3 separate regions of the Homo sapiens genome follow, and regions 1 and 3 are each linked to region 2. The links are contacts of gene promoters, found by promoter capture Hi-C in blood cells and fetal thymus (Javierre and others, 2016). All regions are on one chromosome and are shown on one strand. The core of a region is centred on a gene start or on the middle of the fragment in contact, and the rest is flanking DNA. Distances in the headings are between cores, read along the strand shown.

Region 1 (3,737 bases), core at 1,109-3,608, 520 kb after region 2:
GGGGCTCCTGAGAACCTCCGTAGAGGTCTCCATCAGCCAAAAAGCATCTGCACCGTCAGAGAGGGCCCCTCACTGCCGCTCGCAGTGCTCCCTGCTGCCACGTGCAGCCCCTTGAGCATGAGCCTGTTGACACAGGTTGGCACACGGTGTCTGGCTTCTGTAAATGCTCTCTGCTCCCAGGTGTGCCGTGCCCCATTGAAGGACAGCACTCACACTCCTCCAGGTATTAACTGACTTTTTCCCCAGCAATGTTTGTTTTAGGGATTAAAGTTTGTGGAGGAGCCTATAATTTCCAGACTCATCTGTTCCTTTCCTGGCAGCCAGCACATTTGTCATTCTATTTTTCCCAAGTCCCTGATAATACCGTTCCAGACATGTTGATTTGATGGCATCAGTCAACGGAAAGACTCTCTGGGGCCTGCCGTAGGCCAGAGGACAGGCTCTCCGGGCCACACTCAGGGGCGACTGAGCCAACTCTTCACGCCATTCCTTTCCTTCCCTGCCTAGGACGACCTTACAGCCCATGATCGCTTTTCTTCTTCTTCTTCTGTTTGTTTTTTCTTCCTGTTTTCTTTTTAAGTACTACAGTGACCCCTTATTTATTCAGCAAAGAAATGGACTACTCCACAGTAGTGAATTTTCAAAATAATGCCCTTCAAGCACTAAAACTTTAAACAACACATCTTCAAAACAGCTTTGCTGAGGTATAACTGACACACTATAAACGGCATGGATTTAAAGTGTACAACTTGATATGTTTTGATATATGGACACACCCATGAAACCATCACCACAATCAAGATAATGAACATGTCCATCATTCCCAAAAGTTTCCTCCCGCCCCTCCCTGCCCCCTTCCCCAAGCAAGCACTGATCTGTTTTCCAAATACGTCTTTAATGCTACAAGGGCTCACACACCTCCCCACCTTAGAAAATGGAGTATGATCAACATGATTGATCCTTTCCTTGATTCAGCATTATCACCAACACGATGGAAAGTGATCTCAGATGTCATGAGGATGCATGATTGTTTGCCCTGATCACTAAACGGCCCATTGTTGTGCTGGCATACTGGGCAGTTTCAAGTTTGGGAGTTTTCTCCCTCACTGCTAGCTGTCTCAGAGCTTAGTTCCCAGCAGACAACTCTTGCTGCCTCGAACCCTGGCACACTAACCACCATCCTGTGACGTTCCCACTCCTCATTCTGCGACAGTGGTTCTTTGCTGGGAGAGATTTTTGTCTCCCAAGGGACATTTGGCAATACCTGGAGATCTTTTTGGTTGTCATCATGGGAGCGGGAATGCTACTAGCAGCTAATGTTTAGTGACTAGGGATGCGACTGAACATCCTGCAATGTAGAGTGCAGTGTCCCCTACAGAGAATTATCCGACCCAAGATGTTGATAATGCCAAGGTTGAGAAACCCTGTTCAGGATGACAAACTGATTGAAAACTCAACAAGGGGACCGGGCGTGGTGGCTCACGCCTAATAATCCCAGCACTTAGGGAGGCCGAGGTGGGTGTATCACTTAAGGTCAGGAGTGCGAGACCAGCCTGGCCAACATGGCAAAACCCCATCTCTACTAAAAATACAAAAAAAAAAAAAAAAAATACGAGTGGCGTAAGCCTGTAATCCCAGCTACTTGGGAGGCTGAAGCATGAGAATCGCCTGAACCCAGAAGGCAGAGGTTGCAGTGAGCTGTGATCAGGCCATTGCATTCCAGCCTGGGCAACAGAGCGAGACTCTTGTCTAGAAAAAAAAAAAACAAACCCATAAAACAAACAAACAAAAAAAACTATGAGGATTGAGTGATTCACATTTCTGAATCGAGAGAGAGAAGGATGGGCAGCAGGCTTGTTGAAGCTGGAAGGCCAGGGAGGTCGCAGACTGAGGAAGACCCTGGTGTGTCCCAGGTACCTCCATGCAACCCTACTAGAGAGGTGGTCTCTGGCTTCCTATGGACAAGCTCTAAGGGACCCAGCTATGGGGCACCAGAGCCCAGCGTTCAGCAGCTGCTCAATGAATGTCTGCCAGGCGAGACTGCACCCAAAGCATTTATTAGGTACATAATTGTGGCAGCACTGGCTGGCCATGGAAGGCAAGGCAGAACACAAGGAGCTGGAGCTGGCGGAAGGAAGTCATTAAGTCAGCCAGTGGCTGGGATGCAGCAAAGCCAGGCAGAAGGTAAGTGCAGACCCACCCCAATAAATGAGGAAAATGAGAAGGGCTGGCTGGCCATGTTAGGATCCAGTTCCAGTGCGACCAGATATGTCACCACCACATCACTTTTAGCTCCTCCCCCCACCCACAGACACCCTGTTTGCCTGTCATATAAAGAAGGTTTTCCCAAAGTGGTTTAGCCAGAACTGGAAGGGCCCCGCCCTGTGAAGGGATAGGAGCCTGACTGTTGCAGCTGCAGTGAGTGGCGGGGAAGCAGCAGCGGCCAGGATGAATCCCAGGTGCTCTGGAGCTGGATGGTGAAGTATGGACATGCTTTATTCGATTTTGCATTGACTTAAAGGTTTAATTATTTTAGGAGTTCTTGTAGACATTCCTGAAAAATGCAGGTAGGCAAAAAGAAGAAAACAAAGATCGCAAATGTGACCCTTTCATTCGGAGAGAACACCAATGGAATTTTGTTGTGCACCCTTCTATGCACGTCTGAATGTTGTGTAGACATTCTGCTTACAACTAGGTGTGGGTGCTGCTGCCGAAGGCTTTATTTGCTGTGCCTGAGGTGGACCAGAGATTTCAGAGAAGACTCCCAGAGCACCCCAAGGAGACAACAGGAGTGCTTGGAGTCAGGATGACTGGGTGGATTTAGGACTATGTGATTCTCAGGAGCCTCTCTGGATTAGCCCCAAATCAAGGATAAAGAGAGGCCTAGCTGGACTCTTCCTCCCAGAGCCCTGCTGGGAAAATGGAGCCCCTTTACAGCCCCCACTTACCCATCAGGCCCTGCTCCTCTCACTCATCTCCAGACTTCTGTCACATGCCCAAGTCCTGCTAACTGCTGTGTAAAACTGGTAAGGTGGGATCCAGAGGACCTTGGGCCCCTAGGGCCCCAGGTCAGGAGACCTGGGCTCCAGGGCCAGTTGAGAGTGATAAAGAGAACAATACCTGCCCACAGGACTTGTTGCAATGAGATAAAGGCAGAAGTCACCAGTTGTGGTCAAATGGGATTTTTTTCCAGAGAAGTCTCACAGAGAGTGGCTTTCAAATTCTTTTTAGCAGCAGAATTGTTGTAAAATACAATCTCATGTGAAACCCTAAAATGTGAGACACTCTGGGTGAAGCAGAGAGAGGTGCTCAACTGCCCAATCCTGTCCTCATTCCTCCCTCTCAGGGAGGCACCTCTGAGAACCCACTTTAAAGAATTTTGCCTTATGCAGATTGAAGAGGCAAGCTGGCTGGAAGAAACTGGGAAGCTCCACTTCCCACCGCCTCTGCCTGGGTGGCAGTCATCTGAGCCTAGGCTAGCCCCTCCCCCTCCAAAGACCCACTGCGGGCTCCCCTGGGGCCAGTCTCCAGGATGGGTGGGGCACCTGAAGCAGCAAGTATTGCTATTTTTCTGGGCTGACCTTTCTTCTAGGCCTGAGGACAAGTGGGTAGGTGGGGCCAGCCCTGTCCCTGTTTCCCCTCAATGGAGTTCTCTTGCTCACAGCCTAAGGAAGAAGCGTGAGTCACTTCCTGCCTCAGTCTGACTGCTGGAGTATTGTTCTCCCAACTGTGGCTGG
Region 2 (3,739 bases), core at 90-2,589:
TCGGCCTCCCAAAGTGCTGGGATTACAGGCGTGAGCCACCACGCCCTGCCCCCAGAACGATCTTGAGAACAGAATGTTCCCAATAAATATCCACTGGAAAATGCACCTTATTTTTGTTGAAGGAATGGTGGAATTAGCATCAAAGGGATCTTCAACATTAACTCGGGCCGGGCACGGTGGCTCACGCCTGTAATCCCAGCACTTTAGGAAGCCGAGGCGGGCGGATCACGAGGTCAGGAGATGGAGATCATCCTGGCTAACATGGTGAAACCCCGTCTCTACTAAAAATACAAAAAATTAGCCGGGTGTGGTGGCGGGCGCCTGTAGTCCCAGCTACTCGGGAGGCTAAGGCAGGAGAATGGTGTGAACCTGGGAGGCAGAACTCGCAGTGAGCCGAGATCGTGCCACTGCACTCTAGCCTGGGCGACAGAGCGAGACTCCGTCTAAAAAAAAAAAAAAAAAAAAACTCTATGGCTGGTAATTCTAAGCGTTTTATAATACATCACAAAATGTTCTTTTATTTTTCTAAATTGCACTGAATCAACAAACGGAGTAGACAGGCACATTTTCTTCACTTTAAGGAAAGACTTTGTTGTTTTTTAGCTAGGGGCCGACCCAAAGTGATCACTGGCTCTCACATGAGACCCAGGAGCCTCCCCAGTTTGAAGCCCGATATCACATTTCCCAGAATACTTGATGCCCTCGCCCGCCTCCTCTGGCTATCAACCAGACGGAAAGGGGATGTGCCTGGGAGTTTGATGCCAAGGGAAGGATGCGGAATGTCTGTTTTCTACTAAGGGCTTCTGCTGGGCCTTTCCAATGTCCAGTTTGAGTTGGTCTGGGACCTGGCCTCCGCAAACACCCTGCAGGCTCCGGCCGCCGGGGATGAGGTGGAAGACTGGGCAGAAGAGAGGCCGCAAAGGCCCGAGGGCTGAGCTGCTCTGCGCTGGGGAGGGGCGAAGTGCCAGAGCGCGGGAGACCTCATGGTGGGCACCAGGCTGCTCCGCGGTAGGTGGGTGAGGCCAGGAGATTCACATCTGCAGATGCCACAGTGAGGATACAGCATTTAGATCCCTCGGCTCCAAACAGGCGGTTCCGGGGGACCGGTAGCTGGGGAATTGGGTTTAGCACTTTCCAACGCTTGGAACTGGACATCCACGGCTCCGAGTCCTTTGAGGTCTTGCTCGGGACTACGTTTCCCAGAAGGCTAGGCGATAATTGACAGCTCTATCAGCCTATGGACAGAGAAAAATTCTAGCCATGGAAACTGAAAAGCCAATAGCAAGAGGATGGGGGCGGTACTTTCCGGCCGCTGGCTGTCGAAGCCGGAGTCCCACCTGTGTCCCCACAGCCCTGTCACGAATCCCGGTCGGGTTCTGGGAGGCACAGCCTCGGGGTTGCGGGCCGGGTGCGGCTCGGCGGTGGAGGACTCACTTCCTGCTCCATCCCCGGCTGGGCCCTGGGGCGGTGAGTGATTCAAGGAGGGAGACCGCGGCGGCAGCGGCGCGCTGCTGAGGGGCGTGGAGGGGGCTTGCCCGCCACCCAGACGTTTTCTCAGCGGGGTTCCCGCGCTGGCCTTTGGGAGCCCCCGGGTCTTGCTGGGCTGTGGGAGAGGTAGCTGTGGTCTCTATACCGTCGGCGGGATAAGTCATTCTCTTAATCAGTTTTCTTGCTTCTCGATGGTGGTCCCAGGGTTTCAGCTGATCTGTGACCCTCTGACCGCCGCACCCCGGTTAGGGCGCGAGCACCGAGAAGAAGAACGGGGTTCGGCCCCACGCGTGCAGTCATGTTCCTATTAATAAACCCGGTGAACGCACTGGAGCTTCTCACAGTGGCACTTAGTCACAGCCCCTCAGCGCTGTGGGGCCTTTGAGGTCACCTGTGCATGGGGAAAGGGACGGGCTGGGAAACAGGGTTTCTATAACCGTGGCTAAGACGTCTCCCCTCCTCAGTGGCGCTGTCTCCAGCAAGTGGGCCCTGCAGCTGTGTTTTGTAATGAATGTAGAAATAAAAATTATACTCAAAACTCTTTTTTTTTTTTAGACGGAATTTCGCTCTTGTTGCCCAGGCTGGAATGCAATGGCGCTATCTCCTTTCACTGCAGTCTCCACCTCCCGGGTTCAGGCGATTCTCCTGCCTCAGCCTCCCAAGTAGTTGGGATTACAGGCGTGTGCCACCACACCCGGCTAATTTTGTATTCTTAGTAGAGACAGGGTTTCACCATGTTGGCCAGGCTGATCTCGAACTCCTGACCCCAGGTGATCCGCCCGTCTCGTCTTCCCAAAGTGCTGGGATTACAGTCATGAGCCACAGCACCTGGCCAATACTGAAAACTCTTATTACAATTTTTACTTTCTAATTACATTATTGTTGTTTGTTAAAGTTTTAAACCAGAGAGATGGTTTTTAGATCCTTAAAAACTCAATACTTTATAAATGACCAATAATAATGTCTGTAAATACAAAAATATTTCCCCCAAAAGTGTGTGTGTGTGTGTGTGTGTGTGTGTGTGTGTGTGTGTGTTCCAGTAGTAAATAGGTGATTTGTAGTGGGACAAAAGATGTGAAAGAGTAAAACTTCTTCACCACAGTCTGGTCCTTCCTCCCTTGAAATGCAATATTCTTTGTAGTGGGTGGTCATGCTGGCTGCATTTTTTTTTTTTTTAAGGGAGAGACAGGGGCTCACTCTGTTGCTAGGCTGGGGTGCAGTGGCGCCATCATAGCTCACTGCAGCCTGGAACTCCTGGGCTGAAGTGATCCTCCCACTTCAGCCTCCTGAGTAGCTGGGACCACAAGTGCATGCCACCATGCCTGGCTGATTTTTAAAAGTTCTTTGTAGAGAAAGAGGTCTCAATATGTTGCTGAGGCTGGTTTATTGGAAACTTTTTAAGGGAAAAAACATTATCTTAATTTCTATGTGACTCCTATGCCTGGCAACATATTAATTGTTGAATAAATGACTGATCCATCCAGTAATTCACTCTTGACTATCCTCCAAAAAGTAATGTTTTTCATGATATTGCTGTCGATTTATTAATATATTAATGATTGGTTTCAGCCCCTAAGAGTTGTGTTTTGTGCTTATTCCCACTTTCACTTATTTTTACAACCTATCCATGTCTTCTTTTTTTTAAAAAAAAAATGTCTTTTTCAGTCTTATTTCTGACTCCATTAAGATCTTGAAATAGAATGGTATCCAACACAGTTCCCTTTGGGGTTCTGTATAATCTGTCCCTTGAGGTTGACACCAAATCTGCAAGCCAAGAAGTTAGCTGCTCCCATAACTAATATGAGTATAGTTAAGGCCACAATTTCCTTGCTTGCTGAGGAAAATGAAGTTGGGGAGAATCAAAAGCTTTCCAGAAATCAAATTACACCTGCCAACTCTCTCCTTTGTTTACCTTGTTCATCGTGGACAATTTGTTCCTCAAAAAGTCAATGTGTCTAAAAGACTGGGTTCTGTCGATGTGTTTGGGAGGCCTAGGCCTCTCTTAGTAATGGGAAAGTTGGCCAGGAGAAGACGTATGTAAAAACAGACTTAGAAAAGCACCCCTCTGTGGTTGACAGAATTTACCTCAGGACCATTCTGGTCAGGTGTGGGGGGTTGTTTGTGTACACTGGTGGCCATTTTTTGGCTTTCAGACAATGGTGAGAATATCTAGGGAGCTACTGATGCACATTGAGGTCTCTTGCTTTAGGAACTGATGACGCTTGATAATGTGGCTGGGGACTTCAGGGAA
Region 3 (3,694 bases), core at 89-2,588, 640 kb after region 2:
GGGTCTCCCTCTTTCACCTAGGCTGGAGTGCAGTAACATGATCATGGCTCACTGCAGCCCCAACTTCCTAGGCTCAGGTGATCCTCCCACCTGAGCCTCCGGAGTAGCTGGGACTACAGATGTGAGCCACCACACCCAGCTAACTTAAACAATAAAATTTTTTTTTAGGCCGGGTGCGGTGGATCACTCCTGTAATCCCAGCACTTTGGGTGCCAAGACCGGCGGATCACGAGGTCAGGAGTTTGAGACCAGCCTGGCCAATATGGTGAAACCCCGTCTCTACTAAAAATACAAAAATTAGCTGGGTGTGGTGGTGGGCACCTGTAATCTCAGCTACTCGGGAGGCTGAGGCAGGAGAATTGCTTGAATCCGGGAGGTGGAGGTTGCAGTGACCTGAGATCACGTCACTGCACTCCAGCCTGGGTGACAGAGTGAGACTCCATCTCAAAAAATAAAATAAAATAAAATAAAAAATAAAATAAATAAATAAATAAATAAATAATTTTTTTTTTTTTTTTAAGAGGTAGAGTCTCTCTATGTTGCCCAAGCTGTTCTTGAACTCCTGGGCTCAAGTAGTCCTCCCACCTTGGGCTCCCAAAGTGCTGGAATTATAGGTGTGCGCCACCTTGCCTAGCCGAAAAGTAGATTTGTAGTTGCGGCTGGGGAGAATTTGGACCATGGGGTGAAAGGGGATTGACTGCTAATGGGATTTTAAAGGGGTGATAAAAATGTTCTAAAATTGATTGCAGTGATGATTGCACAACTCTGAATATTCTAAAAATCACTGAATTATAATATACAATTTAAGTACATTGTATGGTATGTGGATTATACCTCAAAGCTGTTATTAAAAACATCTTGGCACATAATCTAAAACATTTTTGGTTTCTTTTTTTTTTCTTTTTTTGAGACAGAGTCTCAGTCTGGCACCCAGGCCGGAGTGCAATGGTGTGATCTCAGCTCACTGCAACCTCTGCCTTCTGGGATCAAGCGATTCTCCTGCCTCAGCCTCCTGAGTAGCTGGGACTACAGGCACACGGCACCACGCCCGGCTAATTTTTGTATTTTTAGTAGAGACGGGGTTTCACCATGTTGGTCAGGCTGGTCTCAAACTCCTGACCTCGTGATCCGACCGCCTCGGCCTCCCAAAGTGCTGGGATTACAGGCGTGAGCCACTGTGCCCGGCCCATAATCTGAAATGTTTTTGATTTGTGACTTAATTGAAAAACTTACAGATTTTTACTATGGCCGGGCGCGGTGGCTCGTGTGCAATCCCAGCACTTTGGGAGGCCAAGGCGGGCGGATCACCTGAGATCAGGAGCTCGAGACCAGCCTGGCCAACATGGTGAAACCCCATCTCTACTAGAAATACAAAAATTAGCTGGGCGTGGTAGTGGGTGCCTGTAATCCCAGATACTCAGGAGGCTGAGGCAGGAGAATCACTTGAACCCGGTGAACCCAGGAGGCGGAGGTTGCAGTGAGCTGAGATCATGCCATTGCACTCCAGCCTGGGCAACAGAGCAAGACTGTCTCCAAAAAAAAAAAGAAATAAAAATTTTACTAATATATAACGTATTTTATTTGGCCTGTTGGAAATGGGTGTTTGGAATTACCAAACACCCATTATTATTATTCTAGTTAGAGACACTTCCTGTAAGAGGATCATTTTCAAATTAAAAACTAACATTTCTCACTCTTCCTAACATTCAAATTGTACTGAACTTAATTTTTTTTTTAAACTTAAATCTTGTATCATCCTTGACACTTCTTTCTTATATGCCCGCCATTAGCATTATCTACACAAGACAGGCAGAATCTCACTCCTCCTGACCTCTGCTGCTACCACTACCACCCCCACCCTGGTCCAGGTCACCACCACCAACTTCTTGCTGTATGGCAGGGGCCTCTTAACTGGTCTCCCGGCTTCGAAGCTGGCCTCCTTAAGTCCATTGTCAACACAGGAGCCCCAAGTCCTAATCTTCTACTCAGAACCCTCCAACGACTTGCCATCTCACTCTAAGGAAAAGCCTCTGACTTTCCAAAGACCTATGGAGCCCCATTCCATCTGAAAGCCATTTCTTTTGACCTCAGTGCTCATTCTATTCCTGTCACAGCGACCTCCTTGCTCTTTCTGGAACATACCAGGCGCTATCTCCCCTTAGGGCACTTGGATTTGCTGATTCCTCTACCTAGATCTCTTTTCCCCCATGCTGCATGGCTTCACCCTTTTCCTTCTTAGGTCTTTGCTCAGAGATCACCTTCTCAGGGAGGCCTTTCCTGACCCATCTCTTTAAAACCACAACCCCCCTTCCTACACCTTCAGTACTTCTTAACCTCTTGATTTCTCTACATAGCACTTACCACCATTTAAGACTAACTTATTTATTACACTCCTCTTTTGCTATTAGAATATAAACTCTGTGAGGGCAGGGATGTCACTTTTGCTCACTGCTATATCCCCAACACTTGCAATGGTTCCTTGTATATAACAAACATTCAAGAAGTATTTTTCTTTTCTTTTTTAGTATAAATTATTATTTTTTAAATAGAGACAGGGTCTTGCTATGTTGCCCAGGCTGGTCTTGAACTCCTGGGCTCAAGTCATCCTCCCACCTTGGCCTCCCAAAGTGCTGGGATTACAGGTGTGAGCCACTGTGCCAGGCCCAAGAAGTCTTTTTGAATGAATAACGTGACATTTCAAAAAAGTTGTATGATCTTAAGATGCTTCAGAGCAATCATTATGAACAATTATCATGATACACTTAAATACTCCCTGGCTAAATTGTTTCAGATAATCCCCTAAAAGCAGCAAGTCTGAGTTTTTTTTTTAGATTCACTGAAAAAAATCAAGAGTGCATACAAAGACTACCACTCAAGGACAAAAAGGTTGTAAAATGAGTCAGTTTTTCCAGTCTTGAACATAAATCACTGGACTGGAAGGTATCTCACAGTGGTCCTTAAATTATTTTCTACCTTCAGGCAGCCTTCACTGATCCACTGCCCTATTTTTTCTTAGCATTCCAGAGAAGGAGCTTTGTTGATCTCCAGTTCAACCTGTTTCGGGGATCGATAACCATAATTAATTCTGGCCAGAGTTTCGTTTGAGCCTCAGAGGTCAAAGCTGCAGTGAGCAATCTCGCCACTACACTCCAGCCTGGGCGACAGAGTGAGACCCCGTCTCAAAAAAAAAAAAAAAAAAAAAAAAAAAAAAGTTAATTATATCCATTAGCCTGGAACCAACATTAAAGGGTAAGTTTTCTCCTGCTTCATTCAATCCCTTGATAGAGGAGATGCCTACATAATTCATAAACTGTTAATGGACTTTTTTTTTTTTTTTTGAGACGTAGTCTCACTCTGTCGCCTAGGCTGGAGTGCAGTGTCGAGATGTCGGCTCATGCAACCTCTGCCTCCTAGGCTGAAGCGATTCTCCTGCCTCAGCCTCCTGAAAAGCTGGGGGTACAGGCGCGCCACCAGGGCCAGATAATTTTTGTATTTTTAGTTAAGACAAGGTTTTACCATGTTGGCACTCAATTCTCATTATTCTGAGGGCAAGCATTTTAAAAAGACTGATCAGAATTAGTGATCATGAAATGAAGAATCTTACAAAGCCTTAGAACAATCAGTTCCACCAAAAACTACACATTATTTAACGCTGTATCATCAGAAAACTGCATCCACAACTTTTAGAAAATAA

The links. The method cuts DNA at HindIII sites, captures the fragments that hold promoters and counts their contacts. A CHiCAGO score of 5 or more calls a contact.
Region 1: the fragment with the promoter of FURIN here is called in contact with the fragment with the promoter of ZNF774 in region 2 in 8 of 17 cell types (activated CD4 T cells, erythroblasts, total B cells and 5 more); the score reaches 12.1 in activated CD4 T cells.
Region 3: a contact is called between a fragment that was not itself captured here and the fragment with the promoter of ZNF774 in region 2, in 1 of 17 cell types (naive CD8 T cells). The highest score is 5.8, in naive CD8 T cells.

Annotation. Positions count from the first base shown.
Region 1 is chr15:90,866,230-90,869,966 of GRCh38, forward strand. It overlaps FURIN (furin, paired basic amino acid cleaving enzyme), which reads left to right and starts at 2,359. Exons shown (of 16, transcript NM_002569.4): 1 at 2,359-2,482. RefSeq lists enhancers at 2,891-3,737, 3,333-3,382, 3,450-3,737, 3,483-3,592, 3,530-3,737. The HindIII fragment of the contact is 27,514 bases long and covers 1-3,737 here.
Region 2 is chr15:90,350,945-90,354,683 of GRCh38, forward strand. It overlaps ZNF774 (zinc finger protein 774), which reads left to right and starts at 1,340. Exons shown (of 4, transcript NM_001004309.3): 1 at 1,340-1,467; 2 at 3,698-3,739. The coding sequence starts at 3,717. The HindIII fragment of the contact is 4,226 bases long and covers 1-3,352 here.
Region 3 is chr15:90,989,890-90,993,583 of GRCh38, forward strand. The region is part of intron 1 of PRC1 (protein regulator of cytokinesis 1); the gene reads right to left. Among named protein-coding and RNA genes, the nearest start is that of PRC1, 2.8 kb to the right of the region's middle. The HindIII fragment of the contact is 7,498 bases long and covers 1-3,694 here.